3 separate regions of the Homo sapiens genome follow, and regions 2 and 3 are each linked to region 1. The links are contacts of gene promoters, found by promoter capture Hi-C in human tissues and cell types (Jung and others, 2019). All regions are on one chromosome and are shown on one strand. The core of a region is centred on a gene start or on the middle of the fragment in contact, and the rest is flanking DNA. Distances in the headings are between cores, read along the strand shown. Region 1 overlaps SPACA6-AS1 (SPACA6 antisense RNA 1). Region 2 holds the start of HAS1 (hyaluronan synthase 1). Region 3 holds the start of SIGLEC14 (sialic acid binding Ig like lectin 14).

Region 1 (2,511 bases), core at 6-2,505:
TATTCTGCACCTTGGTTTTTTTTTTTTTTTTTACATGATATCCAAAGATCCTCCCATATCTAGGCTTATAGAACCTCCTCATTCATTTTAATAGTGATATAATATTCCATTGTATTCATCTATTTATTCCTAGTGTATTCAGTTAATTGGGAGATTGGGAGGTTTTTTATGTCAAGAAACTAATGGTTATGCATATTGATATTTACAGATTTGCTTATGTATGTATGTATGTATGTATGTATGTATGTATGTATGTATGTATTTATTTTTGAGACGGATTGCCCAGGCTGGAGTGCAGTGGCATTATCTCAGATCACTGCAACCTCTGCCTTCCAGGTTCAAGCCATTCTCCCACCTCAGCCTCCCACGTGGTTGGAACTACAGGCCTGCGCCACCAGGCCCGGCTAATTTTTGTGTATTCTGTAGAGATGGGGTTTTGCCACGTTTGCTGGACTGGTCTTGAACTTCTGACCTCAAGTGATCCTCCCACCTTGGCTGAGCCACCACACCTGGCCCAAATTTGCTGATTTTTAAAGTGATTTTGTCCAATGCTTTTAAGCCTCTAAACCCAGATATTCGATAAATGCTTACTTCTAGATCCTTTAAAATTTGTTGATAATTACTAACAATGGGATAATAATAATGACAACAGATACCCTTTATTGAATGACTACTTGGAGCCAGTTCCTGGGATGAGTATTTGTTATACATTATATCATTGATTACACAGAAACCTTATTATTAGAAACTATTATTATCCCAATTGTAAGGATGGAATACTGAATAGGATGCAGTTCTGAATAGCGAGTTGCCCAAGCTCACAAAGTATGTGATGGAGCTAGAGATTCAAACCCAGGCCTCTCTGGCTCCTTCTTTGGGGTGGGCTTGCTCTGGGAAAATATGCTATTTCTAAGGATTGACACTGGGTACATTTAAACTTGTCATGCACACAAATTCATGTATGATTAAGAAGGACCCTTTGTCAGACCCCTCACTTTCACTTACGATCTAGAGTTACTGTCATTCTACATTCACCCTGGATGCCCTGTAGACAGATCAGGACAGGCACCACATCACAGTCCTTGTCCTGGCCCTGATCCTGTTGTGTTGTGATTTTCTACGTCTGGGTCTGTCTTTGGGAATTTACTGAGGGCACAGTCTGGGTCTGAGTCATTTCTGTGTCCTCAATATCACTCCACCCAGGCATGGCTCAGAGCAGGGGCTCAGGAAAATGTTTGCTAAGTGAATGAATGAGGAGATGAGTGAATAATAAATGACTTGTGGATTAGGCTGGGACTTGCTTAAGCCCCCCAGGAACAGTGACCATAATTCCCATTAGTTTCTGAAACATAAGGCCTCTGTTCTGTTCTCATCAGTTAGCAAGTCACAGGGACCACTGGTTCCTTCATTCTCTGAAATACAGGGCTCCAAATCTCTCAGCACATAAGACTCATCTACTGCAATTCCTACAAATATCCAGAACTCAGGATCCATCATTGCCTTCACTCCCTGAAACAGGGGGCCACCATTCCCATCAGACATTGGCACACAAGTACAGGTTGAGCATCCTTAATGCAAAAATCTCGAATCTGAAATGCTCCAAAATCAAAAACTTTTTGAGCACCGACGTAACGTCAGAAGTGAAAAATTTCATTCCATCACTTGATCTCATGTGATAGATTGCAGTCAAAACTTTGTTTCATGGGGCTGGGCACAGTGGCTTATGCCTGTAATCCAGCTGTTTGGGAGGCTAAGGCAGGAGGATCACTTGAGCCCAGGAATTTGAGACCAGCCTGGGCAACATAGTGGGATTCCCATCTCTACAATAAAAAAATTTAAAACTTAGCAGGGCATGGTGATGCATGCTTCTTCTCCCAGCTACTAGGGAGGCTGAGGTGGGAGGATTGCTTAAGCCCAGGAAGTTGAGGCTGCACTCCAGCCTGGTTGATAGAGTGAGACCCTGTCTTAAAACAAACAAAAAACCTTGTTTCATGCACAAAAATATTGTATAAAATTATCTTCAGGCTATGTGTAGAAGGCATATATAAATGAAATGAAAACAAATGAATTTTGTGTTTGGACTTGGGTCTCATCCCCAAATATCTGATTTTATATATATGAAAATAGTCCAAAATACAAAATAAAAAAATCAAACCTGAAACACTTTCTGTCTCAAGTATTTTGGATAAGGGATGCTCAACCTATATCACCATCTTTATCAGTCTCTGCTACCCAATATTGTAATTCTCATACTTCTTAGACACAGGGGCCACCATTCTCATCAACTGCTGAAACTCAAGTTCCACTATTATTACCTCTTGGAACAGCACTTCAAAGGAAAATAGAAACTTCCTACCCTTCACAAGGTCATCCCAAGTTCCTGAAACAGGAACTGGTAGACAGGAGGACACCTTAACCTACCTTGAATTAGGTCTGAGTCAAGGACTTACACGTTGATACTATAGAACAGGCGGCACCGGGTCATGAGGAACATCAAAGTAGCAGAGAATC
Region 2 (2,511 bases), core at 6-2,505, 38 kb before region 1:
GCTGCTCCATGTCTTTCAGCCTGTCCTGGAGCTGGCCCGTGCCAGACACCAAAGGTCGTTGGAGTCACAGGCAGGGAGAAAAGAACGAGGCAGCTACCGAGGCAGCTACCAAGGCCGAAAGTGAGACATCAATAGTTCACAGTAAGAGGAGCAGAGAGAAGAACAGAATTAGATACAGATAGTTTTTTTAAAAAATTCATGGAAAGAAGGGCATGTAAACAGACATTTATCACAGATCTGGTCCTGAGGGGCTGGGGTTCGGGCACCCCAGGTCCCGCATCTCTTTTCACCCTTCCTCTGACTCAGTTTCCCTGATGGGTGACAGCACTGACAGACCCCGGCTGGCTCCCCAGGGTCAGCTGACCGACAACTCTCTGTGTTCATCCCTGAGTCCCTGGGGATACAAATCCCAGCGCCCCAGCTCTCCACCCCAGACCCTGGTGCACACACGCAGACCCACGTCAGTTAGGCGCTGAATGGACAGATGTTCACTCACAGCTCCGGTTCCAGGCAGCCGTGCCTCGGGCCAGCGTACACACAGGCACACCCACAGCACGCACGTGTGTGAGTTTCGTTCCATCTGCCAGTTGCTGAGACATGTCCCTGGGGGGCCCAACCCAGAGATGGATTCTGGGGACAGGAGAGGCGGCTGTGGGGAGAAGCAGGGCGGGGGTGACTGGGGAAGGTGAGAAGGGGGAGGTGGGGAGAGCTTTAAAGCAAGAAGAGAAAGAAATGAGGGTGAGAGGAGGCAAGAGAAGTGGAGAGGAAGAAAGGGATGGAGAGAAAGACAGAAACTTGGAGAAATGTGGTAATGGGGAGAGAGATGAGGGTACCAACAAAGAGATGAGGAGAAATAGTGGGTTAGGGAGAAAGAAAGGGATGGAGGGAAATACAGGGATAGGGGATGGGGGGATGAGGGGAACCCCCAAAATGCAAGTGAGGTGGAAGAGAAAAATCAGGGGAGACAAGGGACGAGAGGGGGGAGGAAGAGAGAAGAAGACATAGAGGAGGGAGGGAGAGGAGGGGGAGTGATGGCAGAGAGGACTAGAGGAGGGGCGCGGGTAGACATGGGGGCCTGGGAAGGGAGGCCCGTCTGGCTGAGGGGGGTGGGAGTAATAGCGGGAAGCGGGTGGAGCTGCCCGGCTGGGCCGTGACCTCAGAGCCCCTGGCCCAGCTTAGCCTGACTGACGTCAGCGCTCGCTCCCGCCCCCGCCTGCGCTGGTCTTCAAATGACCCCCCTCCAGCTCTCTGGCCACAGAGAGGCTGGGAGAGCAAGCCGGAGAGAAGAGAGAGCCCGGCCAGACCCACTGCGATGAGACAGGTGTGTGTGTGTGTGTGTGTGTGTGTGTGTGTGTGTGTGTATACAGCCATGTGGGGAAAACTACTGCCATATGTGTGACCACGTGTGTTGGGGAACTGTGTGTGCATGATTTCATGTGTGTATCCATGTGCCTGACAGTGACCATATGTGTGTAGGGGACAGTGAGCATGTGAGGCTGAGTGTGCAGGTCTGTGTATACATTGCCCTGTGTGAGCGGCCATCCCAAGTACATGTAGGTGAGACGTGCCATGTCCGTATTTCTGTATCTGCGTATCTTGCTACAAACTTGTGTATGTCTATGTTCCCTGGGAGGCAGAGAGAAAGAGGGAGTGCGACAGTGAGCGAATGAAAGAGACTGAGTGAGAAAGAGAGTTGGATTTGCCTGTGGCACATGGGAATGGATTTCTGTTTCATGCGTTCAATAGCTATTAAGTTGAACCAAATGAAATCGCCGATACTGAGCCACTCTAAACTTGGAAGAATAGCAATTTCATCTGGTTCAGTATCAGCTTGACAGTCACCTACTATTTCTCTTGAAATCTTCCCTGTGCATCCCATTGCCCCAGACTCTCAGTTGGGGCTCTGTGTGTTTGTGGCCACGTGGACATCCTTTGCTGGTGTTGCTTTTTCCTGCTGAGGGGTGTGTGTCTGCAGGTTCACCTGTGTGGCCGTCGGTGGGGGTCACGGGATCGCTGTGTTTGGCCTGAGTGGGTGTCTCGGGTCATCCTGTAGAACACGAGTAATTTCATTCTGTGTGTCACTCATCATGTGTGAGTTCACGTGTGGGGGAGTGTGTCTACACGTGTGTTCATCTGTGTTTCTGGAATCAACTCTCTGGATCCCCAGCATGAATTGAGCCATCCCTAGGAACTCAGGCAAGGCCAGGTTTGAAGCAAAGGAAGAGAGAAGGGGGATTCGAGAAGAAAGAATAATGTTTAATGTTGAGAGTTTAAAAGCTGTACCTCAGTTTTGTCCTCTAGAAATGTAACGAAAACCACAATATCTAATTTAAAATTTTCTTGTGGCCACATTTGAAAAAGTAAAAACAAACAGGTGAAATTAATTTTAATAATATATTTTTATTTAACCCAGTGTGTCAGGGGCCAGCACATTTTTTTAAATAAAGGGCCCAATATTAAATATTTGAGGCTTTTGGGGGCCATCTGGTCTCTTTTGAAAGTACTCAACTT
Region 3 (2,511 bases), core at 1-2,500, 39 kb after region 1:
TGGAGTGCAGTGGTGCGATCTCGGCTCACTGCAAGCTCCACCTCCCGGGTTACGCCGTCCTCCTGCCTCAGCCCCCCCAGTAGCTGGGACTACAGGCGCCCGCCACCACGCCCGGCTAATTTTTTGTATTTTTAGTAGAGACGGGGTTTCACCATGTTAGCCAGGACGGTCTTGATCTCCTGACCTCGTGATCCACCCGCCTCGGTCTCCCAAAGTGCTGGGATTACAGGCGTGAGCCACTGCGCCCGGCCTTCTTTTTTTACTGTTCTTCGTGGAGCAGGGGTATGCATAAGCAGTGTGCCCAGAGGAGCCCCCACTAGGATTTTTGACTTACCTTCTCATCCTAAGAGTTTATCCTTTGCTGTATCTCCAGCTCCTAAAACAGGGGGCCTGGTGCACCATAGGCGCCCATGAAGCATCAGTTGAATGAGTGAATTCTCGGGGCCAGACACTGTCCTAAGCACTTTACACATGAGACCTCACTGAATCCCCACACAGCAATTCTATTATTGTCTGCATTTTTCAGCTGAGCAAACTGAGGCACAGAGAGGGTAGGTAACTTTTGTAAAGTTCAACAGCCGGTAGGTGAGGGGTCTGGGTTCACACTTGGTATTCCATATCCTCAACGTTCACATTTCAAATGCCCGGCTCTCAAGCCTCATCTGGCTGTCAACATCAGGGATGGGGTCTGACGCTGCCTGGGACAAGGACAAGGATGAGATGAGGTTCCCAAATCCAACTGGTGGTGGGGACCACATCTCTCTTGACTGCTAAGGACCCGGTCATGTCCACCTGATGTGTTTGTCCCTGACAACTTGCCTTCCCTCTGGAAAGAGGAAAGTCTTCCCCACCTGAAACCCCCAGCGTGTGCTTCCCTCACCACAGCTCCTATCATGTCATAAAGGATTTATTCTCCCATCTCGCTGAGGGTCCCGAGGCCCTGACTCCCAGGGAGCTGGCCAAGTGGTGTTCTCCTTCCTATGTAGACAAAGGTGCATAAGGAAAGTGCTGCAGCTATGGGACCTGGTGACCTCAGGAGTCTAGACTTACAAGTCTGGACAAGCCCCTCTGGGGGCCTCAGTATCTTCACCATCGGCGTCCAGTGGGGGTGGGAGCAGAATGGCTTCCCAGCCCCAGCCTCACCCCAACAGCACGTGATGCCCAAGTTCCCCTTCTGTGCGCGTCCACAGCTCTCACTCACCCTCCGGCTTCCTGTCGGGGCTTTCTCAGCCCCACCCCACGTTTGGACATTTGGAGCATTTCCTTCCCTGACAGCCGGACCTGGGACTGGGCTGGGGCCCTGGCGGATGGAGACATGCTGCCCCTGCTGCTGCTGCCCCTGCTGTGGGGGGGTGAGTGAGCTGAGGGAGGAGGGACAGGCACAGGGGTGAGAAGGGGGGCTGGAGCTGCAGCTGAGCTTCTGTGTCCCCCCAGGGTCCCTGCAGGAGAAGCCAGTGTACGAGCTGCAAGTGCAGAAGTCGGTGACGGTGCAGGAGGGCCTGTGCGTCCTTGTGCCCTGCTCCTTCTCTTACCCCTGGAGATCCTGGTATTCCTCTCCCCCACTCTACGTCTACTGGTTCCGGGACGGGGAGATCCCATACTACGCTGAGGTTGTGGCCACAAACAACCCAGACAGAAGAGTGAAGCCAGAGACCCAGGGCCGATTCCGCCTCCTTGGGGATGTCCAGAAGAAGAACTGCTCCCTGAGCATCGGAGATGCCAGAATGGAGGACACGGGAAGCTATTTCTTCCGCGTGGAGAGAGGAAGGGATGTAAAATATAGCTACCAACAGAATAAGCTGAACTTGGAGGTGACAGGTATGGCAGGAACCCTAGGAGAGGACCCTGGGACGTGGAGACCCCCGTATGAGAACAGGGACAGGAGTTGGGCAGGGGCGGCTGGAGGAGGTGTAGGACTTGGGGCAGGTCGGGGCCTGAGGCCTGGCCACTCTCGGGGTCACACCTTACGTCCTCAAGCCCCTGGGGCCCAGGTATCTCCCTGTCTCCTCCTCAGCCCTGATAGAGAAACCCGACATCCACTTTCTGGAGCCTCTGGAGTCCGGCCGCCCCACAAGGCTGAGCTGCAGCCTTCCAGGATCCTGTGAAGCGGGACCACCTCTCACATTCTCCTGGACGGGGAATGCCCTCAGCCCCCTGGACCCCGAGACCACCCGCTCCTCGGAGCTCACCCTCACCCCCAGGCCCGAGGACCATGGCACCAACCTCACCTGTCAGGTGAAACGCCAAGGAGCTCAGGTGACCACGGAGAGAACTGTCCAGCTCAATGTCTCCTGTGAGTGGTGCTGGGGACACAGCTGAGTCCCCAAGGGCAGTGGGAGTGAGGGGGGTGTGTGTGTGTGTGTGTGTGTGTGTGTAGAAGAGAGAGAGAGAAAGAGAATGATAACCAGGGAAAACTCGTGTGTGGGCAGGAAGGACAGCGGTCCCCACCTGGTGGGTTTCTGTGGCCCCTCCTTGGGTCCCTCCCGGGACCACGCCCATCCCTCTTGTCAC

What was found. The method cuts DNA at HindIII sites, captures the fragments that hold promoters and counts their contacts. A contact is called where the count stands out against the background at its distance.
Region 2: the fragment with the promoter of HAS1 here is called in contact with a fragment that was not itself captured in region 1 in 1 of the 25 tissues and cell types used here (stomach).
Region 3: the fragment with the promoter of SIGLEC14 here is called in contact with a fragment that was not itself captured in region 1 in 1 of the 25 tissues and cell types used here (pancreas).

Annotation. Positions count from the first base shown.
Region 1 is chr19:51,685,010-51,687,520 of GRCh38, reverse strand. It overlaps SPACA6-AS1 (SPACA6 antisense RNA 1), which reads left to right. Exons shown (of 2, transcript NR_108100.1): 2 at 1-2,158. It also overlaps a transcript of SPACA6 not described here. Among named protein-coding and RNA genes, the nearest start is that of MIR99B, 6.3 kb to the left of the region's middle. The HindIII fragment of the contact is 5,980 bases long and covers 1-2,511 here.
Region 2 is chr19:51,722,735-51,725,245 of GRCh38, reverse strand. HAS1 (hyaluronan synthase 1) reads left to right here and starts at 1,255. Exons shown (of 5, transcript NM_001297436.2): 1 at 1,255-1,321. The coding sequence starts at 1,313. The HindIII fragment of the contact is 37,877 bases long and covers 1-2,511 here.
Region 3 is chr19:51,645,564-51,648,074 of GRCh38, reverse strand. SIGLEC14 (sialic acid binding Ig like lectin 14) reads left to right here and starts at 1,250. Exons shown (of 7, transcript NM_001098612.3): 1 at 1,250-1,352; 2 at 1,435-1,818; 3 at 2,015-2,293. The coding sequence starts at 1,316. The HindIII fragment of the contact is 12,517 bases long and covers 1-2,511 here.